4 separate regions of the Homo sapiens genome follow, and all the other regions are linked to region 1. The links are contacts of gene promoters, found by promoter capture Hi-C in human tissues and cell types (Jung and others, 2019). All regions are on one chromosome and are shown on one strand. Each heading gives the region's core, a stretch centred on a gene start or on the middle of the fragment in contact. The rest is flanking DNA. Distances are from core to core; before and after follow the strand shown.

Region 1 (6,331 bases), core at 3,011-5,510:
AATTTTGTGTATTTTTTGTATTGACGGGATTTCACCATGTTGCCCAGGCTGATCTCCAACTCCTGGGCTCAAGTGATCCATCCACCTCACCCTCCCACAGACCTGGGATTACAAGCGTGAGCCACTGCACTTGGCCTGTATTTCTTTCAACTGCCTTTTATCAAAAGATCAGTTTCCCTTTCCTTACTCTCATTTTTCCTCCCCTTTTCTTTCATTTAAAAAAAAATCTTTCCCATCTTTTAGATTTGCCAATTACTTTCACGGACATTATAGTGCTAGCTGTTTTAACAGATAAACTCTCAATTGCGGCGGCCTAAAATAGAAGTTATCCCTCAGTAAACTCCAAAATGATTGGGGCAGGCTTTCATAGGCTTCCAGGGACCCAGGCTGTCTTCATTTTATGACCTCACTGCCTCTAAGCCCTGGGAATCCTCTCCATTCAGCCGGAAAAACAGGAATGGAATGAACATTCAAACAGGGAGATTTTTATGGGCCAGGCCTGCAAGTGGAGCACATGCCTGCGGTCATACCCCATTAGCCAGCACTCAGTAACATGGCCACATGTAATTGCAAAGGAGAATGGGCAATGGAGTCCAACTGGGGCAGCAAGAGGAGAAAAATGGGTTTGGTGAATAGCTAGCTTGTCTCTGCTACTAACTGCAGATTATTTCAACAACAGATATACATGATCTGGTGTACTACATGTAGGTAGCCCTTTCCTTACTTTCTCATGAAATCATTGCAACAACCATTATAATGGGATTAGAAATTGGTATGTCCAATTCAGAAACCTAAGGTCACACAGTTCTGAATGACAAACCAAGATTTAGTCCCTGTTCTGCTGCAAAACCTTCTGCAATATGTTGGATTTCTCCAAATAAAACACAGTGAAGTGAAATTATAGCCTGACAGAATTGTGATTACACTTAAAATATCATATAACTGCCACATCATCAACAGAGTCCATCCTTGGAGATGTTTTCCCAATTGGAGGGATGGACTTGTGCTAATTCACTTAAACTCTTTCCCATTTTAGTGTTTCATTTTTGAGACAGGGTCTCGCTTTGTTGCCCAGGCTGTAGTGTAGTGACACAATCACAGCTAACTGCAGCCTCTACCTTCCGGGCTCAAATGATCCTCCCACCTCAGCCTCCCCAGTAGCTGGGACCGCAGGCACATGCCACCATGTCCAGCTACTTTTTGTATTTTTTGTAGAGAAGGGGTCTTGCCATGTTGCCCAGGCTGGTCTTGAACCCGTGGACTCAAGCTATCTGCCTGCCTCCCAAAGTGCTGAGATAATGAGAGTGAACCACTGTGCCTGGGCTTTTTCTCATTTTAATGTATAGCATTATATATTGATGTATAGCTTTGAAGAGATCATTGCAGTCCCCTATAGAGGAATGAATCAATATTCACCCTCATCACTCATGTCTCAGCACTAAGAAACACAAATAGGCATTTCTATTTCTAAAAGATACTTTAAAAATATGGTTTCTTTCTGCTACTGAAGTTTCCTAAAAATCAAAAAGAAAATAGTTTCATTTTATCTTTACAATCTTTTGAACACTAGAGATATCAATCAGATATATCCATTTACAAATGAATAATAGCTAGGTTACTCTAAGAAATATATGTATGTGTATATTCGTTTAATCCTCAGCATCACCTGATGAGTTAAGTGTTTTTGTTGCCAGTATTTTATTGCCGTGGCTATCAAAGCACATAGAGGTTAACCAACTTGAGTGAGGTAAGAGTTGCGCATTGAAGAAAATACAGGTCAGGGTATTAGTGAAAGTCTCCAGCAAAGTTCCCAGGGTTCATAGGTTCTATTTATTCTGCTCTGTATGCCACAGGTTATTCCTTATTTCTTAAAAGATCTTTTCCTCAGGGCTTTCATAACATCCCGTTCCTTTCTTGCAGCTTCATTATATCTTTATTGTGCAGACACATTGACTTGAGTATGTAAAACCTAACAGTGCCTATTGTTGCACTAAAAAATGCCTTGCTATTAAAGCATGAGGCAAAAGCCTAACTTAGCTGTTTCCTGAAGTAAATCCATATTTATACAGAAAAACCCCTTAACTTCCTCTAAAACAAAAGGCATATACTCTACATAGACATATATTTGAGACATTAAAGAAACATCAATTTCCATTTTAAAAAAACGTTTAACTTAGTATCCTCTGTCAAATTTCTGGTGCCTACGAAAAAACTGTAAAAAAAATAGCTTTTGAAATATTACTCATTTTAAGTGAGTCACGCCCTAAAAGAATTTACTTGGGAGTCAAAGCTAGTTGACCCTAACATCTCAGAAATAAAACTCCAATTTGTTTATCCATTTAACCTACCATGAGTCTGTGATTTGGCAACTTGTGAAAAGCAACAACAAAAAAACCCACTAAAATATAACTGGTCACTGGAAACCCTCTTTCTGGTCTGTACTATCTAAATGCCAGCTGTCATGTCAGGCAAAAAGTAATTTGTAGAGCAGCCTTGTGGTCCACTGTATTATGTAGGAAAGACAATGTACTGGAAGAGCGAGGACTCAATCATTTCGTGTCTACTACTGAGAAACTAAATTCTGTAGAGAACATGAGGCTAAACGGAGGCTCTGGTCAGCTCAATAAAGATACGTTGGAAGAATCAATGGGGAGTTTACACAAGAGTAAAATGAAGAGTTCCAAGCTCTCTCATTGCTAACCGTACACTCTCCATGGCTGTTGCAAGTGGTTTTGCAGGTCATCCAAGCACTAATCTTTTCTTAGCCCGAACACATTTAAAGAGGGAAGGGGCAGAGATCATTCACACTGTGAATGTTTCTCTCTGAACTTCCTGAAGTCAACTGGGCGGAGGCCCTACCGGTTCAGGCACCTGCAATTTCCGCCTTTCTCCTTCCCCTTCTTCCGGGCTCCCGTCCCGGCTCATCACCCGGCCTGTGGCCCACTCCCACCGCCAGCTGGAACCCTGGGGACTACGACGTCCCTCAAACCTTGCTTCTAGGAGATAAAAAGGTAATGATCGTCATGTGCAGTATGAGGTCTTCACGTGAAAGCTTTATTTGGGTAGGAAAACCTAGCCTACGAGAAACGGGTCCGTGCGGTCACGCCTGACTGCCTGTCTCCGGGTCAAGGCTGCCAGGACCAGCTCCAGCCCTCCGCCCGAGAAGGCTGTCCTTTCCCCTCGGAACTCTGGCTTCCCTAAAGCGGCCGCGCCTCCTTCCAGGCCTCACCTCCTGCCGGCTCCGCCCGGCCCGGCCCACCTCGCCCCCACCTCGGCGCCCACCCATTGTCCCCTCGCGCAGTCACCGAGCGCAGATCCCGCGCTCTCGATTGGAACGCCTCCCCATCACTCAGCCACACTCAGGGGCTGGACGCCTCACTCCCGTTTCCGAGCCATAAAAGGTCTAGGACCGCTTCCCCCGAGCCAGCAGGTAAAGCCGCGGCGGCGGGAGGGAGGCCGGGAGGGGCCGCGCGCCCCGGTCGGCCCAGCCGGGGAAGGGGAGCGGCGGGCGGGGCGGGGGGCAGCGCACCACACACAACCCTCCCTTGCCGTGCGACCGCGCCCTGCCCCCGCCCCGGGGCCCCCGCCCCGCAAGTCCTGATCACAATGCCGGAGCCGCCGAGCCACCCTTGTCATCCTGCCCGGGGACGGCCCTGGGGCAGTTACTACCGCGAAGCACGGAGGGTGGGGCGGGCCGGGCCTCGGGGAGGGGTGGGGGGATGTGAAAGGTCCCGGATGTTGCTGAACGGGAGCCCCTTCCAGAGGGAGTGACTGGGGCAAGCGCAGACGGGCTGAGCGAAAGCTAAGGTGGGGGTAGGGAGAGAACGCCTTCCCGCCGGCTGAGAGGAAGAGTGGGCCGGCAGAGGCTGCAGGGGAGAGGGAGAGAGAGGGCGTTGGGGACCCAAAGGGAAGGCGAGGAGTGGGGGATTTGCGTTGGGGAGGAAAAGGAAAAAAGCAGCCTCCTGCCCTAGGTGCACTCGGGACAAGCGTAGAGGAGCTGGAAGCCGAGCGGGGTGGGAGGAGTGGCGGCTGCGGGCGAGGACGCGCGCGCCTCCGCTCGCCCTCCAGCGCGGGCGGGCAGGACGAGCGCCGGGGAGCGGCGGTTACGCGGGGCCCCGATCGCTGTGGGCACCAATCAACGGTTGCCATAGCAGCGTTTGACGTCATCGTGCGTGTGGTGCCCCTGCTGCCGGGGCTGGTGATTGGAGGAAACCCCGTGTCTGCGGAGCGGCTGTAGCCTGTGAGCAGCGAGATCCAGGGACAGAGTCTCAGCCTCGCCGCTGCTGCCGCCGCCGCCGCCCAGAGACTGCTGAGCCCGTCCGTCCGCCGCCACCACCCACTCCGGACACAGGTGAGGAACCCGGCCGCCGCCGCGCCTCGCTTCCTGTCCCAGGCCAGCCTTCCGAACGCGTGGGAGCCGTCCTCGCTCCGTCCCCTCATCCCCACTCGCCCCGCGGTGGCGGCGCCGGGCTGAGGCGGAGTCTCCTCAGCGGACACGGGCGGCGGCTCCTCTTCCGCTGGGCTCGGGAGGGCGGCTAGCGGCCGCCTCCGGCTCCTTGCTTCCGCATCGACGCCCCGGCGCCGATCGGTGCTCGCTCCCCCGTCCTGCCCCCGGGGGTGGGTAGGGCGCCCACACGCGAGATCCCTGGGGATCTCCCTGTCGCCGGCTCCCGAAGGTGGACGAGGCATGGCCGGGGCGCCGCCGGCCGCGATCCATCCCCACCCTTGTCTCTGCGGGCTTCCACCCCCTCCCTCGCCGCCCTTCTCGCTTCCGCCCGAGATAATGACTCGGCGGCGGCGGCGGCGGGCATCGCAGTGGCGCAGGTGAGGCCGCCCCCTCCCCTCTCCCTCGGCCGCCCCCTCCTTTCCCTCCCCCTCGCGCAGCCTCCGCGCTGGGCGCTGCGGCGGCGGGACCCGGCCCTCCCCCACCCCGGGAGGCGGTGGCGCGGCGGGGAGGGGCCGGGGGCCTCGGGGACCCAAGCGCGAGGGAAAGGCCTGGCCGAGAGCGGGCCGGAGCCCAGGCCTGGCGCGGCGGCGCCCGCCAGGTAGACCGGGGCGAGGCTGCGCGCCGGCGGGAGGGGAGTCCACTGCGGGGTGAGGTTTTGGGGTGGGGCTCGCCTGGGACCTAGAGCTGAATTTCCTGGGCTCCGCGGTGGGAGGAAGGACTTGAATTTTCCTGGTGGGGGTGGGGGATGGGTCTGACTTTTTTTGCTCCTTGTGAACGGGCGGGGGAGGTGTGGACGGGGGCTGCAAGTCCAGGTCGGGGTAGAGAACAGGGTGGTGAGCCCGCAGTCGGCTCCCGTGCTTGATGGACTAGAACTGGAGGGTCCCTGCGCTCGGTTTGGGGACGCATATCCTGCTTTGGGGGCGGGTGAGCCTGAGCATAGCCGCTGGTGGCCCGCTCGGCTGGGTGTGGCTCTCGTCCCCTCCCCCACCTGCAGCTGTCGGTCCCTTAGAGACGCTGTACACGGTCACCGGCGCTGATCGGTGGCGGGGAAGGCGCTGGGTGGGAGAGCGGGGTGTGTCCGCGGCGGGGCTGGTAGTGGTTCCGCTTCTGCGGGCTGCTGTGGCGTCTCTGCCCCGGGGTCGGGCGGCTTCGCTCCCCATCTCTCCCCCCCCCCCACGGCTTGGGCGGGGGCGCGGGCTGCTCCTCCCTCTGGCTCCGGTCGGGGGGAGGAATTAACACTCTGCAGTAGGTTGGGCTCCCTGACACAGATCCGCCATGACAAAGGAGGAGAGTCGGGGACTTGAGCCGTGGCTCCGACTTGGGCGGAGCCTGGAGGGGGGTGGTTGCGATACGCGGACCGGAGAATTTGCACTTTAAAGTCCGGGTCTGCCCGTTTTCGTTTCACAGTAACCGACGTCTCAAGTCAGGTAAGGGTTAAATGGGTGCGGTGAGTCCTGCCCGCAGTGTAGAGGCGAGGCCTTGGAGCACTCGTTACTGTGTGAGAAACCTTATCCACTTCCTCTTGTACCGAAGTGATTGGGGAGAGAATCCTTTGTACTGGCTTAAATCATTTTTTGTTAGAAGCAGAAATAACCAGAGAGCGTTTCTGAGATCCTAAGGGAAAAATCAGTAATTTAGAGACCTGACGAAAATAATGCCGTCATAAAGGTTAAATAGTTTACGTATTGAGCCAGTACCTTGCATCCAAAGTGGTTAATTATTTGTTTAAAATGTGGCGACCTGTTCTCTCATTTGGTTAAAAAAATATTGTGGGATTTCCCTGGGAAGGTAAAAGATGATTAATATTCGGGAGCCAGCTGCCAAGGTGGACTCTTCTGTTCACCTTCTAACTTAAAAGTGCACTTCATTCAGGGTGTGTATTTT
Region 2 (6,324 bases), core at 909-3,408, 1.2 Mb before region 1:
TTGATCTGTGGTTTGAAGGAGTTGCAATATAGACAAGAGTCTGGATCTGAGTTGAGTGTAGAAAGGGAAGAGTGCTGGGAGAGAGAAGAGATGCATCAAATCCCAGTTTGTGGTTGGACTAGTCTTGGTGAGTTTTAATCCTGTGGTCAGCCCAGGTATCCTGAAAGCTGTTACTCTCAGGGTGCCACTGGATGCTTGTTTTATAAGAGCAGACTAAGGTCCCAAAAAGTCAAGAACCTTGCCCAAGTCCCATATAGAGCAGTAACTAGAACTAGAACTAGGTTATCAGCTTTAACCTTAAATCCTTCTTAATAAATTGGCTTTTAAAACTTGTTCTCAGCTGGTCATGGTGGTTCAAGCCTATAATCCCAACACTTTGGGAGGCCAAGGCAGGAGGATCACTTGAGCCCAGGAGTTCAAAATCAGCCTAGGCAACATAGGGAGAACCTGTCTCTACAAAATTTTACAAAAATTAACAGATATGGTGGTACACACCTGTGGTCCCACCTACTCAGGAGGCTGAGGTAGGAGGATTGCTTGGGCCCAGGAGGTTGAGGGTGCAGTGAGCCATGGTTGCACCGCTGCACTCTAGCCTGAGTAACAGAGTAAGACCCTTTCTCAATCAATCAATCAATCAATCAATCTCTCAGCCTCAGACTAGCCATGGGTAAAATGAGGTTAAAATGAATAAATTATAGGCCATATCCAGTCTCTGTGCCTTTCCTTTCTCCTTACCCTCTGAACCTCCTCAAATATGAGTTTTACTCACAGTTGGTGACATAGTTTGACTATATGTCCCTACCAAATCTCATGTTGAATTGTAATCCCCACTGTTGGAGGTGAGGCCTAGTGGGAGGTGTTTGGGTCATGGGGAAGATCCCTCATGGTTTGGTGCTGTCCTCCTGATAGTGAGTGAGTTCTCATGAGAGCTGGCCCCAACTCTCTCTTGTTCCTGCTCCCACAATGTGATGTGCAAGCTCCTGCTTTGCCTTCTGCTATAAGTAAAAGCTCCCAGAGTCCTCCCCAGAAGCTGAGCAAGTGCCAGCACCATGCTTCCTGTACAGCCTGTAGAACAGTGAACCAAATAAACCTCTTTTTAAAATAAATTACCAAGTCTCAGGTATTTCTTTATAGCAACACAAGAATGGCCTAACACAAAAAGTTGGTACTGGGAGTTGGGCATTGCTATGAAGATACCTGAAAATGTGGAAGCAGCTATAGAACTAGATAAGAGGCAGAAGTTGGAAGGGTTTGGAGGGCTCAGAAGAAGGCAGGAATATGAGGGAAAGATTGGAATTTCTTAGAGACTGGTTAATTCACTGTGACCAAAATGCTGATAGTGATATGGACAGTGAAGTCTAGGCTGCTGAGGTCTCAGATGGAAATGAAGATCTTATTAGGAAATAGAGCAAAGGTCACCCTGTTATGCCTTAGCAAAGATTTGGATGTATTGTGTCCATGCTCTAGGGATCTAGGGAAGTTTGAACTTGAGAGTGATGACCTAGAGTATCTGGTAGAAGAAATTTCTAAGCAGCAAAATATTCAAGATATGATCTGGCTGTTTCTAATAGCCTACATTCAGATGTGGGAGCAAATAAATAACCTAAAGTTGGAATTTATATTTAAAAGGGAAGCAGAGGGTAGAGGTATGGAAAATTTGCAGCCTGGACATGTGGTAGAAAAGAAAAGCCTGTTTTCAGGGGAAGAATCCAAGCAGGCTGTGGAGCAATCACTTGCTAGAGAGATTTGCATAACTAAGAAAGAGCCAGGTGCTGATAGCCAAGACAATGGGAGAAAAGGCCTTGAAGGCATTTTGGAGATCTCAGAGGCAGCCCCTCCCATCACAGGTCCAAAGGCCTAGGAGAGAATGGTTTTGGGGACCAGGCCCAGGGCCCTGCTGCTCTGTGCAGCCTCAGGACACTGTTCCCTACACCTAGGCAGCTCCAGCTACAGCCACAATTCAAAGGGATCCAGGTACAACTCGGGCCTCTGCTCTAGCTCCAGAGGGTGTAAGCAGTAAGGCTTGGCAGCTTCCACATGATGTTAAGCCTGTGGATCCACAGAATGCAAGAGTGAATAAGGCTTGGAAGGTTACCCCTAGATTTCAGAAGATGTATGAAAAAGCTTGGGTGCCCAGGCAGAAGCCTGCTGTAGGGGCAGAGCCCTCACAGATAACCTCTACTAGGGCAGTGCAGAGAGGAAATGTGGAGTTGGAGGCCCTTCACAGAGTCCCTACTGGGGCACTGCCTAGTGGAGCTGTGGGTAGAAGGCCACTGTCCTCCAGATCCCAGAATGGTAGATCCACCAGCAGCTTGCACTCTGCACCTGGAAAAGCCACAGGCTACCAACTCTAATTCATGAAAACAGCCATGGTGAGTAGACACCACAGAGACACAGGTGGGGGTGGAGTTGCCTAAGGCCTTAGGAGCCCACTTGTTGCAGCAATGTGCCCTGGATCTGGGACATGGAGTCAAAGGAGATTATTCAGGAGCTTTAAGATTTAATGATTGCCTGGCTGGGTTTTGAACTTCCACGGCACCTCTCATCTCTTTCTTTTGGCCAATTTTTTCCCTTTTGGAATGGGAATGTTTACCCAATGCCTGTACCCTCATTGTACTTTGGAAGTAAATAACTTGCTTTTGATTTTACAGTATCATAGACGGAAGGGACTTGCCTTGTCTCAGATGAGACTTTGGACTTCTGAGTTCATGCTGGAATGAATTAAGACCTTGGGGTGCTCTTGGGAAGGCATGATTATATTTTGCACTATGAGGAGCATATGAGATTTGTGGGGCCAGGGGCAGAATGATATAGTTTGAATATATGTCCCCACCAAATCTCATATTGAATTGTAATCCCTGATGTTGGAGGTGGGGCCTGGTGGGAGGTGTTTGGCTCATGGGGGCAGATCTCTCATGGCTTGCTGTTATCCTCCTGATAGTGAGTGAGTCCTCATGACATCTGGTTGTTATAAAGTGTGGCACCTTCCCCAACCCCCTTGCTCCTGCTCCTACCATGTAATGTACAAGCTGCCACTTTACCTTTTGCCATGAGTAAAAGCTCCCTGTGGCCTCCCCAGAAGGTGAGCAGATGCCAGCACCATGCTTCCTGTATAGCCTGCAGAACTGTGAGCCAATTAAGCCTCTTTTCTTTATAAATGGCCCAGCCTCAGGTATCTCTTTATAGCAACACAAGAATGGCCTAACACTCAATGGTGGGAGACTGAAAGCTTTCCCACTCAACTCAGGAACAAGCCAAGGAAGCCTACTTTCTTCACTGCTAATCAACATTGTACTGGAAGTTCCAGCCAGAGCAGTCAAGCTACAAAAAGAACTAAAAGGCATCCAAATTGGAAAGGAAGAAGTAAAATGATCTATATTCACAGATGACAATCTGACATATAGATATGAAATTTAAAACTCATTCAGAGTAAGGTGTAAATGACTGATAAATTTTATTTTCTCCCCAGGGGTATTTGCTTTCAAATCAAGGTAGTAAATTCTGCATGTGAAGCTTATTGCATCAATCTGCTGATATAAACATCTTCTTATTCTTAACTTTCCCATGAGCACTGAAATCAGTCTGCATAGAGTAACCTGCCCTACCTACATTGTTGCAGACTGCCTCCTACCAGGCTCCTTTATTCTCTTTGTCTCCAGCTTCCTCCCATCTTCTTTTACCTGTTTAAGGGAAGGATGCTCTTTATTAGTGGTTTTTAAAGTGTGGTGCTCAGACCAGCAGCATCAGCATCACCGTGGAGTTGGTGAGAATGCAATTTCTGAGGCCCTGGCCCAGCTGAGTCAGAAGCCCTGGGTTGGGGCCCACAGATCTGTATTTTGACATGCCTTCCACGTGGTTCTGATGCACACTAGAGTTGGAGAACCAGTGAACTGTGGAATGAAATAAGACCTGAAATTTATTCCTGTCCAAGGAAGTTGGGACATTAACTGAATAACAGCTGGAAATAAGTCAGCAGCAATACAATTAAACACATTACATAGAATACTACCGCTGGCTTAGCTTGGTATTTTGGCAAGGGCTGCCTTCTAGGCTGTTGCCCTGCCCCCTGCCTCTCTAGCCCTCTCTGTGGGCTTCTGTTTCTCTCAGCCTACCCTTCAGACCTTCTTCCTCTTCCCCTGCTTGATGCCCTCTTGCTTTTCCCCAGGCTAAGGCAGATACCAACTCCCCTCAAGTTGGTAACACTATTGTGTAGACAGCTCCTTTATCACCGTGGTCAGGCCGGGCCATCCCTAAGGCTGTGTTACTCTGCCTATTACCTCCCTTACCACCCACACTTTTCATTCCAGGTCTCTGAAGTTTTGGGGGCTCAGCTTCTGAACATTTTGTTCTCCCTTGCAAGCTCATGAAGACAGTTGCGTCAGTTTCCTTCACTGGGGATGGTTCCTTTGTGTCTTCTTTCTCATTGGACAACTTAACACATTTTCTTCATTCTACCCACAGAACAAAGCCATGGCACCTTGTTTGTCTGCCTCATTCATTTGTTCAAGGGTCCTTTCACGACTGACCTTATTCTGATCACAAGGCAAACATGTGGAAGTTGCAGGTGTCCTCAGATGGGAAATTCCTGTTTGCAAAGTCTAGCTTTTCACCTGGCAGCCAGGTGGACACTTTTGTCACCTTTGAGACCTTCAGCAGCAAGACCATCTTTAAAGACTTCTCCTGCTATCAGAAACAACTTATTTGAGGAGGGGGGCCAGGATAATAACCCTTGGTGTACAGATGTTCACCTTCAATCTTACAGGAATTAAAATGTTTCCAATTTTTGGCCATGTGAGTCAGCTGGGTGGTTTATTACTGTTAGACAGTGTTTGTCAAAGCTTGGGCCTTGGCTTACTGCTTGGAAGCTCCCGAGGGTGCTTATAGCAGATAACCAGGCCTCACCTCACATCTGCTCAATCAGACTTTCCAGAAATGAGCCCAGAATTTGCATTTGCACACTCAGAGGGAATTTGGAGATGATTCTATTCACTCCAAGGTTGGGGTAGGTGCTGGATTTGTTTCCAGTCTGCATTTGCCCCAGAATAAGCCCTAACCCATGCAATGTGAGTCATGTTATAACCAGGTTCAACTGTTTTTTTGTAAGAGCTCCCATTGTATACACTCTGCTTCTTGGCTGAATGTCAGGAATCAAGGCTGAGTCTGTCTGTGGACCCACAGGAAGCACTGCTATAGTCAGTCTCCTACATTTCCCATTCATGCCCTCACCTACTCAGGTGACATCACCCCAGCCTTAGGTATTTTGAGAGGCTGGGAGAGGCTGCCTCAGGGACCAGTCCATCTGGCACAGCTGCTGAAGGGATCTGCTGCCATCTCCTCTGGCTTTCCTGGCCACTGTCTTCCATTCACAGAACAGCCTGAGAGACCCAAGTGGCACCTTGTGCTGTGCCCCATGAGAACACCAGCGTCTGTGTTGAGGTGTCATCTCCTGGTCATAGACTCAATGCAGAGGTGGGGAGGGTAGTCCCATCTCTAACTTTGTACCTCATTCATCTCCAAGGTTCCAAAGCAGGACCTCAAGTGCTCAGTGTCGTACACATTCCCTCATGAAAACAGTTACTCCAGTGTCTGCCTCTAATTTTTCTTCAGAGATTCAAAAATAATCGAGGGGGCTGGATATGCATGTACATACACACAAACACACACCCCTTAGGGCTACCACGCTGGGCAAATAGACACCTGGAGGAGTCCCCAGCCCACAAGTTTTTCAAACAGCCAGACTCTAGATTCCAGTCTGGACTGGACTAGGATTTCCTGGGACACCAAGTTTATTGGAGTCCTTCAGGGCAGGAACAGAAAGACTTTGATTTTAGGTTTTCCAGTCCATTGTTCAGTGGTGTAGCCGGGACTCCATTAGCCACAGAGATCACCCTCCTTCCCATACATCCTCCTCACAATAATAAGCAGCTGGCACATTTGCTCTGCAAGCTCAATTTCACCCATAAATGTTGACTATGGAGTTCTGAGCACTGGGGGCTTCTCTGAAACCGTTTCTTTGGGCCATCAAAGAAGAGCCATCGTTTTGGAATTGTTCTGTGGCTAGCAGTGAGAGTTTGAGAGGAACTTCCCAAAAATGTGAAATACAATATTTAAAAATATAAGAATTCACATTCATCTTAAAAGCCAAATACTTTGGGATATGTGTCTCTCTCAGGGTGTTTTGTTCAACTTGATGTATTTAACACTTGGTTCTTTAGCCCTAAGAGAATTACCAAATTGATGGTAATCAAAGAATCATACTATCACAGGCTAGACCAGAAGCCTGCCTGCCTCTCATGGAGCTTGTGCCTGAGAGAAGTCCAAGAA
Region 3 (6,418 bases), core at 1,835-4,334, 1.3 Mb before region 1:
TACTACAAAGGATTGTTGATGAGTTGATACACTTAAAGCACTTAAAATAATATTAGACACATAATAAACTCACACTAGATGGTCACTTTGTACTTAAGTGAAACACAGAAATTCACTATGTACTATACCATGGTAATTAGAAATACAGATTTTGATTTCTTGTCATGAAAATGTAAGTTCAAATTATCTTTAATGAGAATCCTTATGAAATCTATGATGCTGTGGTAATCATTACCTATCTTGCTAATGTTGTATTAGCAGATATAGCAGAATTATATTCTGATAACCACCCAGGTACTTAATGAAAAAGTCAAGTGGGGCGTAGGTTTTTTTGGTAAGATAAACTACATTTTAACATTTTAGTTGCAAGATCCTCTCTGTGTTTACTAATTAATGAGAAATCAAGATTATAACTATATTAATATAATCTCTTAAACTTATAAACTATGTATATTAAAAGAAATTGTGTTTGTTCATAACTTTTACCAATATTTTTGTTATTAGAAAATGAATTTGCTTATTTAAGCCTTACAGTGAATTCGCTATTCTTTAACCCATTACCATATCCTCACATCCACACGTTCATGTTCTGCTGCTTATTAGAAAACTGCTGACCCTTGGGTCTAATTTTCCTTTTGGGAACTTGCTAACTGTAGGTATGTAAAACATGCCACCTCCTGCAGGAGAAGGTCTAAACACAATGTAAAACTTTGTTTTTCCACAGGCTTCAAAATATCTGAGTAAATTCTAAAAAGCAGAAATTATAGAGGCCTTAGATTTTTAATGCAATGAAAGTAGAAACTGATTTAAAAATTGCCAAAAAGCTTAATCTACTTAGAGATTAAAAATATATCCGTTAGGCCAGGTGCGGTGGCTCACACCTCTAATCCCAGAACTCTGGGAGGCTGAGGTGGAAGAATCACTTGAGTCTAGGAGTTTGAGACCAGCCTAGGCAACATGGCGAAATCCTACAAAAAATTAGCCAGGCCTGGTGGCATGCCTGTAGTCCCAGTTACTTGGGAAGCTGAGCTGGGAGGATCACTTGAGCCTGGGAGGCAGAGGTTGCAGTGAGCTGAGATTGTGCCACGGCACTCCAGCCTGAGCAACAGAGTGAGACCCTTTCTCTCTCGCTCTCTCTCTCTCTCTCTCTGCATATACATGTATCTCCTTTAAAATGAGATTTAAAATGAAAATAAAAATTAATTGAAAATATAAAGTAAATGACAATATGATTACTATGTATCAAAACTTGTAGGAGCTGGGCCTTGTGGCTGACTCCTATAATCCCAGCACTTCGGAGGCCAAGGCAGGAGGATTGCTCGACCCCAGGAGTTCCACACTAGTTTCAGCAATATAGCAAGACCCTATCTCTACAAATAAAAATAATAATAAGGCTGGGCACAGTGGCTCATGCCTGTAATCCCAAAATTTTGGGAAGCTGAGGCAGGTGGATCACCTGAGGTCAGGAGTTCAAGACCAGCCTGGCCAACATGGTGAAACCCTGTCTCTACTAAAAATACAACAATTAGCTGGGCATGGTGGTGGGTGCCTGTAATCCTAGCTACTCGGGAGGCTGAGGCGAGAGAATCGCTTGAACCCAGGAGGCAGAGGTTGCAGTGAGCCGAGATTGTGCCATTGCACTCCAGCCTGGGCAAAAAGACCGAAACTCTGTGTCAAAAAAAAAACCCACCAAAAACAAGCCACTTAATTTAGTTTGTTTTTTTGGTCTTGGTTACTTTGTCCATGCCATGAATGACTTAGATCTAATTTTTTGAAAAGTCTTCAGTTCTAACATCTAGTGAGTCTATGGCTATTGGTTCAGTGCCCTTTCACTGTATCTTGCTGTATATTACAGCTCCAATATTCCCTCACTTTTTACACACAATTTCTGATGGAGAATTTCATAGAATTTCACTCAGCCACACCCAGCATATGAGTTTTTGGAAAAAAGATACATAAATATTTAAAGCTTTATTTAAAGATTAAGTCACATAGCATGCAATTCACCCATTTAAAATGTACAATTCAATAGTTTTTAGTGTAGTCACAGAGTTGTACAACCATCATAACAACCTATTTTAGAACATTTTTATCACCCCATAAAGAAACTGTATCCCTATTAGCAGTCAGTCACTCCTCTTTCCTCCCCTTACCCACCTTGCCTTAGGCAACCACTAATCTAATTTTTGTGTCTGTAGATTTGCCTATTCTGCGTCTGTAGATTTGCCTATTCTGCATATTCTATTTCATACAAATGGAATCATATAATATGTGGCCTTTTGTGGTTCTCTTCTTTCCTTAGTGTGTTTTCATGGTGCATTCATGTTGTAGCATGTATCAGTGCTTTATTCCTTTATATGACCAAATAAATAATATTCCACTGTATGGATATACCAAATTTTATTTATCCATTCGATGGACATTTAAGTTGTTTCCTCTTTTGATCTATTGTGAATAATGCTACTATGAACGTTCATTTACACATTTTTGTGTGGACATGTTTTCATATCTCTTAAGTATACACCTAGGAGTGAAATTGCTGGATCATATGGTAACTCCATGTTTAATCATTAGAAGAACTACCAGACTGTTTTCTAAAGCAGCTGCACAATTTTATATTCCCACCCTGTATGAGGGTTCTAATTTCTCCACATCCGCACCAACACTTATTACCTGTTTTTTAAAAAATTATAGCCATCCGAGTAGGTGGGAAGTGGTATCTCATTGTGATCTTGATTTGCATGTCTCTAATGGATAAGGATGCTGAGCATCTTTTCATTTTGTATATCTTCTTTAAAGAAGTATCAGTTTGTCTATTTAGACACTCTGCCCATATTTAAAATTGGGTTACTTGAATATATGTTTATCTGTAGTGTTCATATTTTTTGCTGGGATACTCCTAAATTGAGAAATCCTCTTTTGTTACTCCTTGTGAATCACTGAAATATCCCACAGTTTCCATCAAGCTGTATCTCCAAGTCTGCTTCTTGAATTCTTTTTTTTTTGAAATGGAGTCTTACTCTGTTGCCCAGGCTACAGTGCAATGGCATGATCTTGGCTCACTGCAACCTCTGCCTCTCAGGTTCAAGCAATTCTCCTGCCTCAGCCTCTTGAGTAGCTTGGATTACAGGCATCTGCTACCACGCCCAGCTAATTTTTGTACTTTTAGTAGAGACAGGGTTTCACCATGTCAGTCAGGCTGGTCTCAAACTCCTGACTTCAGGTGATCCCACCTACCTCGGCCTCCCAAAGTGCTGAGATTACAGGCATGAGCCACCATGCTCGGCCTTGTTTCTTGAATTCTGAAGCAGTAAAAAAGCTTCTTGTTAGCATAGTCCCCCTTTTTGTTTGGAGACATCTAGTCACTATGGATAACATTTATTCTGTCTTCCCTGATCATGTTCCCTTAATGACAATTTGTTGATTATCTGTTCTCTTATAAACTAAGAAACATACTTAGAACCACAGTGGATTGTTGCTAATTTAACATTTTATAGTATCATGTATGTCTGACTAATAGTAATATCTATGAAAAATGCTCATGGTGTATTGGATATCTCAAGCTGTGAGAACATTTTCTATTGGTTAGTATTAAATATTTCAATTCCTGAAATAGTTGTGTTTTTTTTTCTATTTATTAGAATACCAGAGATGCTAGTACAGTTTCTTGAGGAGATTAGTGGTTGATCTTGGGTCATCTTAAAATTTGTCAGCCTTGAGTACCTCCAGGGTCTTAGGGGAATGATATGATCTTGTAGCTGACTAGATAGGTTTTGAGAAACCTGACCTCTGTTTTGGTCATCTTTGCTCTTATTGTGGATGTAATTTGATCTCTTCAGAATGTCTAATAATATTTCTTTCCTTTTTAGGTTTTTCAGGCAGAAAATCCTTTTGATTTTATGGAAAACATTTCTTTAGAAGGAAAAACAAATTTCTTTGAGAAACGAGTTTCAGAGTATCAGCGTTTTGCAGTTATGGCAGAAACCACAGATAACGTCTTCACCTTGGATGCAGATTTTTAAAAAACCTCTCGTTTTAAAACTCTATAAACTTGTCATTGGTAAATAGTAGTCTATTTTCCTCTGCTTAAAAAAAATTTTAAGTATATCCTTTAAAGGACTGGGGGTTTGCTCAAAAGGAAATCCAAAACCTATTCTAAACAATTTGCATTTATATAATTTTCCTGTTTAACAACAAGAGTGTGACCTAAATGCTTTTGTCTTGTCACTGAAATAAAAGATGGCATTATGTGGTTAAGAGCATGGGGCGAGGGGTCAGACATGAGTCTAAGGTTCTGCCCTTACTCCAGTGTGTGACCCTTGGCAAGTCAGTTAATCTTGGTAAACCTCGGTGTACTTATCTTTAAAATGGGAGTAATAGTAGGTCCTAAATTCATAGAGTGGATATTAGGATTAGGATGCAAAAATAAATGCTTAACCAACACTACTACTGTTAGCACCACTACTAATTATCATTCATTGATAATATTAATTGCAATGATGTTGTAATAAAATACTCTCATTTCCTTAAAATAATTGTGATTCTAGGTCCTAGGATCTAGAATTAGATCTTTGTATTTTTAATGCTTAGGGGAAGAATATAAGTATCTCCTTAAAAAGAACATAATTCTCATTCACGCAAGAATAAGTTCTTTGAATTCCTTAGTATGTAGTGAAGAAAATTTAGTTGTTAGTTGCTTTGGGAAGCCTACTTATGGAGTGGAAACCAGGAGGTTATCATGGTAGTTGACCTTATAAGAAAAATGATTCTTCTTCAGAAATTAAAAACATAACTATTGCCAGATTTAGCTCTGGAATGTTTAGAATCAGGCTAGAATAGCATTTTCCAAAGAATATTCTAAGAGCTATTAGCTCCTCTAGATATTTTTTTGGGGGAAAAAGGGGATTCTGTGGTCAGATGAGTTTGGGAAATGCTGAACACTTCATTCTTCTTTAGCAAGTACAGTCAGTACATCAAAGACTGAGCAGTTCAGTGGTACATAAATTTATCTCGCCCTGCATATTCCCAACATACTTAACACAGATGTTTTTTACCTGTTAACATCTCACCCAGCTAGTGTTCCTCAGAACAAAGATTGGAAAAAGCTGGCCGAGAACCATTTATACATAGAGGAAGGGCTTATGGACTGAGAAAGGGAGAACATGGTAGGGATTATTGAATCATTTCAAATTTATACCAGCCTGAATAGTGTACCAGCAATTGACTTAGGCTGTGTTTCTTTATGGTTTTAAAACTCTTGAGCTGTTATAAGAGATAGTTCTTTTAATGTGACTATGCAACATGATAGCCAATGGTGAGGGAAAAGGAGGTTTCTCTAGAAGAGTCTGATGAAAGGCCGGGAACCAAGGTTTTTGAGAAGTCTGCCCCTATTTATTTTTAGTAAGTATCAAGAGGTAGCCTGAGCCTAGTTAGAGTTAGACCTGTCTTTGGATGAAGAAGTCTTAATACTGAAATACTGAATTTTTAATACATTATTATTTGGTATTCTGTATACCCCTTCAAGCAGTTGTTTCCCATTCCCAACAAACTGTACTTTATACAATTCTGGATGCTAAAACTTAGAGATTTTCTCTTTGCATAAATTTTGGCTCCATTCTTTCCATAACAATCTAATCAAAACTGGGAGTTCTCAAGTGAATGCAAAAGGAGCAGGCCATAACTTTATTTGTTAGATACACTGTCAGAAACTTGAGATCTTTTGGCCTATGATAATACCATTAATTTTTGCATTGCTTCAGTTTGCCAAGTGTTTTTACATCATCTCATTTGATCTCAAAACAGCTTGACAGAGCAACTGTTATTGAAATATTACAGATGGAAAGAATGAGGCTCAGGGAAGTTAAATGACTTGGCCAAGATCTGCTCATCGTCACTGTCTGTACAGTATTTTTTTTTAGAGGTTGTAATGTCTCAGATTTAGTCCTTTACCATCTATGTTGATTTGCTTTTGTCTATTTCCTCATTAATTGAATATACTTTAAATATATATATTAAAGTATCAAAATATAGAGAGACATTTGAACTGTATTCAGGTAATATGTTTAAAGATATTTATATATTGCCATACAAAAACTTAACATTTAAAACTGATAATATCTGTAATGACATCAGAATGAAAGAAAAAAAATTGTACAGTGTATATTCCTTTGTTTTGAATCCAAATCTTTTTCATAGGTAATGACAGATGCCTTAATGTGAAGCTTATTTATAATAGCAATAAACCTAACTGGATTTGGATGAAGAAGTCTTAATACTGACATACTGGATTTTTAATGCACTGGTTTGTTATTTGGTATTCTATCTCTTTTTCCAGGCCTCCAGGTTGCACATTTATTTATTATGTTCAATACTTTGGTTCTTAGTTCTTAAAGAATCAAGAAGTTGTGTAATCTTTTAA
Region 4 (7,317 bases), core at 1,015-3,514, 1.2 Mb before region 1:
CTAGGTACCTCATATAAAAGGTATTTGTCTTTTTTGTGACTGGCCTATTTCACTTATAATAATGTCCCCAGAGATCATCCGTGTTGTAACATGGGCAGAATTTCTTTCCTTTTTAAGGTGGAATACTGTTCCATTGTATGTATGTACCACACTTTGTTTATCCATGCATCTGCTGATGGACGTTTGGGTTGCTTCCATCTTTTGGCTACTGTGAAAACACTGCTGTGAATATGGGTGTACAGTGATATGTTCAACTCCCTGTTTTCAGTTCTTCTGGGTATATACCCAGAAGTGGAAATGCTGAGTTATATGGCAATTCTGTGTTTAAGTTTTGGAGGAACATCCACTGTTTTCCACGGTGGTACCATTTAACATACCCACCAGCAATGCACAAGGATTCCATCAACACTTGTTATTTTCTGTTTTTTCTTTTAATATAATAGCCATGCTAGTAGGTGTGAAATGTTGAACACATTCTTGAAGGTAGGTTGGAATTGAATTGTGAGAAATAGTGGTAGAGTTTAAACTTCATTCTAGGGTCATGGGGAACCATTGGATATTTGTTGCCTGTGATAATGGCATGATCGGAAGGTTTGGACGTTAGAGAGGGGGTGGGGAGAAGAGGAAAGCAGCAGAGAAGTTATTTTAATTATTTAGATGAGAGAACATAATAGTTTTCCCCACATCTGTACAACTGAAAATATGTCTATCTCTAGTAAATGGTACTGAACTTGGGGAGGAAATGTAAATACGGCATCGAGAGATCTCATGGCCCAGGATTCCTCACAGAAGTAGACTACTGTTGCTAATAATAGCACTCATGCTAGCAAATGCCTAAAGGCGATTCAAGTATTGATTAATTCTGCTAAATCCTATGAAAGATTCCTCCTCCAGCATCCCATAAGGAGGCGGATGAACTGCTCAGAAGGCAGTAACTGAGGAAAGTTAATGAAGGGACTATTTACAAAGGTGCGGGTAAGATCAGGGAACCCACCAGAAGTGGCCAGCAGTGCATGCAAGCCTTCACTACCCAGCCCTGACAGCATGAGGTGAGAGAGCAGTTTCTGGAGTTGTTCAGGGGACAGGGCTGCTGGCTGGAGCTGTGGTTTTCAGTAGAGGAATATGACTACTGCCCATTGTGGCCTGGTGGGGAGGCATCCAGGTGGATAAAGGCCCCAGCCACTCTCTTCCACTCTCTGATCTGGTGCTGGTGCCTCCCAATTGGCCAAACTAGCCACAGCCAGACAGCAAGAAGGCCTGTTGATGTGGGACTATCTTGTAGTCCATAGTAGCCAACACAAAGTAGTGTTCTAATTATCCCCAATTTACAGGTAAGTGAACCGAGGCATTGAGAGGTTGAATGATTTACCAACATTGGGAGCTAGTGCAGGTTATGGAGCTGAAATCTGAAGACTGACAAATAATCAGAGATCATCAGCACATTTCTTCTGTATATGCAGCTGGATCTGGAAGGTTACGTTTTCCCCAACCTGTGTGTTTTGGTTCTTTGGAAATAATCTGATGTGTACAAACTTGGCTTGGCTGTCAATAGGTGGTGTGGGTGCCTGCTCAGATCCCCCACTTTTTACAAAAATAATGTACTTTGCAGGCATATTTCATACTTGATTCATTGTGTTTAGATAAAAAGAATATTTTCCATATACTTGATGGGAGTGACAACATGTCCTTGAATCACATTTGCTACACATGAAAAAGATGTAAGTTGCGTTTTTTTTTTTTTTGAGTTGAAAGTGCCAACGGAGTTGACAGTGTCACCTGGCTGTTTAAACATTAGTGAGACCTTGGGCTGCAATAAGAGAATACTGTTCAAAGGAAGGGAGAGGATCGTTCCCTCTGTGCTGCCCTGACTGGTACAAGTTAAGGGGATTTCTCATGAGCTGGCGGATGCCGAGGACAGTAGCTGGGACTCTCTGGCCTGGAATCGCTCTGTGGGACTTTTATATTCTTTTCTTCACATACATGAAAGCACTGTACTGAGGGAAAGGGATTAGACTCATCTGGGGCCAGAACTAGGCCTACTGTGAACACGGAATGGGCTGCTTTGGAAGGCTTCATATAGTCCCTGGCCGGAGATTGTGAAGCTGAGGCCACAGGTGAGAGATGGGGCTGTAAGCTTATATTTGTTTCCTGTGGCCGCTGAAACAAATGACCACAAAATGGTGGTTGAATGCAACAGATATTTATCCTCTCACGGCTCCGGAGGCTAGAAGTCTGAGGCCGAAATGCCGTGCTTCCTCCAGGGATTCTAGGGGCGACTTCATCCTTTGCCTCTTTTAGCTTCTGGTAGCTGCAGCATTCTTGGGCATGAGGTTGCATCACTAGAGCTGCGCTGCACGTCACATTGCTTCCTGCTCTTCTCTGTGTGTCTCTCCTCTGCGCATCTTTTATAAAGACATTTGTCACTGGATTTAGAACCCAGCTGCGTGATCCAGAATGATTTTATTTCAAGATCCTTTATGACATCTGCAAAGACCCTTTTTCCAAATAAGGTCATATTCACTGGTTCCGGGGGTTAAAGCTTGGTTATGGCCAGGCCCAGTGGCTCATGTCTGTAATCCCAGCACTTTGGGAGGTCGAGGCAGGAGGATTGCTTGAGCCCAGGAGTTCAAAAACAGCCTGGCCAACAAGGTGAGACCCCATCTCTACCAAAAAATAAATAAATAGATAAAAATAAGTAAAAGAAAAAAAATTAGGCCTCTTGGCATGCACCCGTGGTTCCAGCTACTCGGGAGGCTGAGGTAGGAGAATCTCTTGGGCCCGGGAGGTGGAGGCGGCAGTGAGCCATGTTGACCCCACTGCACTCCAGCCTGGGTGACAGAGCGATACCTTGTCTCAAAACAACAACACCACCACCCTACAAAAGAAACCCAAAAAAGTCTTGGACACTTGGACATACTTTTTTTGGGGGTCACCACCATTCAATCCATGACAGAGCTCAGTAGTTAGGATACACGGCAACTATGGATTCTCTGACTCTGTTACGGTGCCCCTAGATTTGATTTACTGTCTGGATTCTAGGTTCCTTGACACACAGTAGAGGTTTTTGTTTTTGTTTGTTTTTGTTTTTGTTTTTGTTTATTATACTTTAAGTTCTAGGGTACATGTGCACAACGTGCAGGTTTGTTACATATGTATACATGTGCCATGTTGCTGTGCTGCACCCATTAACTCATCATTTACATTAGGTATATCTCCTAATGCTATCCCTCCCGCCTCCCCCCACCCTACGACAGGCCCCGGTGTGTGATGTTCCCCTTCTGACACAGTAGAGGTTTTCTAAATGCTTTTGATTTGATCATTTGCAACTTTATTCTAACTTTAAACAACAAAATAAACAAACACTTAAAATCTACCGTCCTTTACTTCTGAAATAAAGGGGTGTGAAAGAGGCTGTCAGAAGCCAGTTTGATCCCTGTCTCAGCTAAACGTTTTCTGGGCTTTGCTTTGCTGGATGGCATTGAAGGAAATGAATGGGAAAAAGAGCTGCCACTGGTCCTGTTCAGGCTTCTCACCTGGGGCTTTCCCAGATGCTTTTAGAAATATAATTTCTCAGAGGAAGGCTAAGGATGCTGGAGTCTTTCAGGAAAGGGAAGCAGAAGCAGCAGAGACTCAAGTTTCTAAGCCCATGCTTCAGGAAGCATCCACTACAAATATTGTTTGTGAATGCCATTGACCCATCCGCACGTCTTTTATTTATGTATTTTCAACAGTGAGCCCCAAAGTAGGGCCTGTGTACATCGGGCACATAAGGCAAGGTAAAGAGTAGCTTTGGCAATGGCCTGGAGAATTCGATGACTGTAGTCCATCAAATGAGGTGTATCAGAAAAGTCCACTCCAGGGCATCAATTATTCTGTTTTATTGTCTGCATTGATCGCATTAACTGGGGAAGAGCCAAAATCCATTCAGTCTGTGCTATGGAGTAGCAGGTGTAATTAAGGTCAGTTTCTCTCTAGGGGGCAGCTAATTTTGGTTTCTCAGCTGCTTTACAGTTTGACTTTAAAAGAGAGGAAGGAAAGAAAAAAAGGTAAAGTGCCCCTTCATGTTACCATCTTACCTATCCTACTGTATCATTGTTACTCTGGTTAATATTAACTTTGGATCCTTTTGCTTTAACAGTGTATCGGAATACTGTGATACTTACAGAATTTAGTCTCACTACCTGAAGAAAAGGTTTGCCTTGCAGGGGACCAACTACACAGTTTGTGGGGCTCACAACAAAATGAAAGTGTGGGAACTTTGTTTAAAAAAATTAAGAATTTGAAGATGGTGCTAGTGGAGGATTAATGCCAGCATGGGGCCCTGCTGAGTATGGGGCCTGTGTGATGGCACAGGTCACATGCTCATGAAACTGGCCCTGGCTTTGTGCATATGCTGAGGATGGTGTCCTTTTACCTACCTGGCACCTTAACTCCCAAAGAGTGACCAGGCCAGTTTCCTCTGCCTTGGTTGGAGCACAGCTCTTCTGTAGGGCAAGGGCAGTAAGAGGCCTGGATATCTCCTGTTGGCCCTTCCACATCCCTGGCTCCCTTCTCCACCTGGCTCTGTGCCCCAAGAGGTGATCTTTACCACTGGCGTCAATGGCCATCTTTTCTTCTGACTTCTGGTATAATTTGGCCAGAAATCAGCAGGAGACGGGAGGGTGGGAGGAGAGTGAGGTAGGGTATTTATTCCCCTGTCCCTCCACTGGGTTGCAAGCTGCAGCTTGGTGTGTGTGTGCTAAAGACCACAGCGCCTGCAGCTATCCTCTCCATATCGCCACCCTCTTTGGGTTCCTTCAGCCACTTCCTCCCCTCATGCCTTCAGGCCTAGGGTGGTCATGGCTTCCTGCTATTACTAGCCTTAGAGTCCTGCATCATCCTTCATTGCTTTCCTGAACCCCTGTATGACTTTCTTCTCAATAGCCTCTTCAGTAGGACTCCTCTGTAGGATTCAAGAGCAGCCTCTTTAGTTTTCTGGTTGGGCTTTAACTGATTTGGTAACCCTTGGACAGAGTTTGGCCACAGCTTGCTCTGCTGCAGGGCAGAAAGAGAGAAGCTGATGGCTGTGATAACACGTGACTCTGCTGGGCCAGCTCCTGGTAGGGATGGGTGATCAGAAGGCAGTACCTCCACATCTACAGTGGTGGAGAACGTATGTTTGAGAGCTAGACATTTGAATTCTCTGGCCTGACTTTGGGGAAGTCATCTCATCCATAAAATGAGCGAATGACAGCCCTTCACTTACAGGGCTGTTTTGAGCATGAAGCGAGATCACGTGGGCATCATGCTTGTCATAGTGCCTGGCACACAGGAAGTGCTCGAGAAGCATTGCTGCTTTTAGCATTAGTTCTACGGAGTGACCCCCTTGAGGGGATACACTCGCTACTCTTCTCTGATCTGAACTAAGGCACTGACAGCCTAGACTACACCAATGATTATCAAGTTTTCACTGATTCACGGTTGTTTGGGGTGCTATTTCTGTCTTTTCAAGTAGATTGTTCTGAAATTGTTCTTATCTTACATACCTTTTAAAAAACTAATATAAGTGCCCAACCCAGTAGGTAGCACATCATAACTGGCCAAGAAATGTTTCTTGGCTAAATATAAGACGACTACATAATTTATTGTTCACATTGGGACATTTTTGAGAGTGAAAGGGGAGGACTTTCCAGTAATTACAGCAAAACAGCAGGCACAAATGGGGACTGTCCTAGGCAATCCAGGTAAAGAAACATAGTTATTCTACTTAAGTGGGACTTAAGGCAGTTTTCAAAATACATTTTTAAAATTTGCCGGCCTACCATATTTTGTATTCGTCTGCCTTTGGTTTATGAAATAAAAACATGAGATTTGAAAAACATAGGCAAAAATATGTTTAACACTTCTAATAGATTCTTGGCCTGAATTTGAGGCAATGGGCCAGGGCCTCTTATCAGATAGAGACCTACTTTTACACTTTGTTACCCTGCTTTACACTAGGTACCTATTTATAAACTTTCTTCTGTGCCTGCTTTTAAAAAAGATAATCTCCTAATTATTGTCTTTCTTGCTATAGTGATCATTTATGCTTAAAGATGGCAAAAATAGATTTATATACATGTGTTTTTTGGAACATCTTTGTCTTTGTATTTCTGGTTGCCTGGGTGACATTTCCAAGAGAATATGTGCTAATCTGCTATTACTGAAACAGAGATAAGGTGGAAACTATTTTTAGGTCTGTCTATACCTTTCCTTTTCTCTCCTAGACCACTTAATTGGTTTATTTTTTTCTGTTTCCATTGTTTGAAGGGCATTCATAGCTTCTGTCTTGGTCCATTTTGCGTTGCTATAATGGAATAAGTGAGACTGGGTAATTTATAAAGAAAAAAGGTTTATTTGGCTTATAATTCTGATGTCTGTAAAAATTCAAGATTGGGCATCTGGTGAGAGCCTCAGGCTGCTTCCATTCATGATGGAAAGTGAAGAGGAGCTGGCACGTGCAGAGATCACATGGCCAGAGAGGAAGCAAGGGGAGGGGGAGGTGCCAGGCTCTTAATAATCAGCTCTCCACTGAACTAATAGAGTGAGAACTCACTTACCTCCCTCCTCCACCCAGGGAGGGCATTAATCTATTCATGAGGCACCCACCCCCACGACCCAAGCACCTTCCATTAAGTCCCACCTCCAACAATGGGGATCAGATTTCAACATAAGATTTGGTGGAGACAAACAACCTTATTTAAACTATAGCAGCTTCCTTCCTGTAGTTCTAATTTGGGGACTGGATAACTTTTTTGAAAACTGATGTAGTCATTCAGTATCTTCTTCATTCACAATAGCTAAATGTGTATTGATAGCCAATTTGTTTGGTTAGTTGATAACAATTTTTTTTTTTATCACAGTTTGTCTAAAACAAGCTTAGGCAAGGGATATTTTTGGTATAAAAAAAGAATGTGGAGGCAATCTGTTGTTCTCTGCTGGAAAAAGCACATCCCTTCTGGAGCTGGATTAATCCGGTTTTGGTCTTAGTATTGCCACTTATTAGCTGTGAGGCCCCTGGAGCTTGTATCTTCAGGTGACAACGGAAGCAATAATAGTACCTGCCTTATGGGGTTACTGTGAGGGTTGAGAGGGTTAAGTAGAATAACACATGCAAGGAGAAGATGCAGCATCTCACCAATAGAAGTGCTGATGCTGCTGTTCTTAATACCAGAGGTACAGGTGCACCCTACCTTTCAGAAAATAATCTCATACAAGGTATCACAAATATTTGAATTTCCTAAAGAGATAAATTAGGGAGATCATTATTTTCTTTACTAAAATGTTTTTGTTTTTATA

The links. Contacts are between HindIII fragments. The study calls those that stand out against the background at their distance.
Region 2: a contact is called between a fragment that was not itself captured here and the fragment with the promoter of YWHAZ in region 1, in 1 of the 25 tissues and cell types used here (dorsolateral prefrontal cortex).
Region 3: a contact is called between a fragment that was not itself captured here and the fragment with the promoter of YWHAZ in region 1, in 1 of the 25 tissues and cell types used here (heart right ventricle).
Region 4: a contact is called between a fragment that was not itself captured here and the fragment with the promoter of YWHAZ in region 1, in 1 of the 25 tissues and cell types used here (dorsolateral prefrontal cortex).

The regions. Positions count from the first base shown.
Region 1 is chr8:100,949,949-100,956,279 of GRCh38, reverse strand. YWHAZ (tyrosine 3-monooxygenase/tryptophan 5-monooxygenase activation protein zeta) reads left to right here and starts at 4,260. Exons shown (of 6, transcript NM_145690.3): 1 at 4,260-4,351. RefSeq lists enhancers at 2,776-2,905, 2,916-3,025, 3,305-4,163, 5,316-5,395, 5,022-5,881 and 1 more and silencers at 3,166-3,845, 3,866-4,125, 4,356-5,125, 5,516-5,735. The HindIII fragment of the contact is 8,101 bases long and covers 1-5,653 here.
Region 2 is chr8:102,186,609-102,192,932 of GRCh38, reverse strand. No RefSeq gene overlaps it. Among named protein-coding and RNA genes, the nearest start is that of RRM2B, 49 kb to the left of the region's middle. RefSeq lists an enhancer at 1,481-2,098. The HindIII fragment of the contact is 4,036 bases long and covers 141-4,176 here.
Region 3 is chr8:102,205,737-102,212,154 of GRCh38, reverse strand. It overlaps RRM2B (ribonucleotide reductase regulatory TP53 inducible subunit M2B), which reads left to right. Exons shown (of 9, transcript NM_015713.5): 9 at 3,870-6,418. The coding sequence ends at 4,022. Among named protein-coding and RNA genes, the nearest start is that of RRM2B, 30 kb to the left of the region's middle. The HindIII fragment of the contact is 3,373 bases long and covers 1,398-4,770 here.
Region 4 is chr8:102,112,039-102,119,355 of GRCh38, reverse strand. It overlaps a transcript of NCALD not described here. Among named protein-coding and RNA genes, the nearest start is that of MIR5680, 9.7 kb to the left of the region's middle. RefSeq lists an enhancer at 6,370-6,871. The HindIII fragment of the contact is 4,908 bases long and covers 1-4,718 here.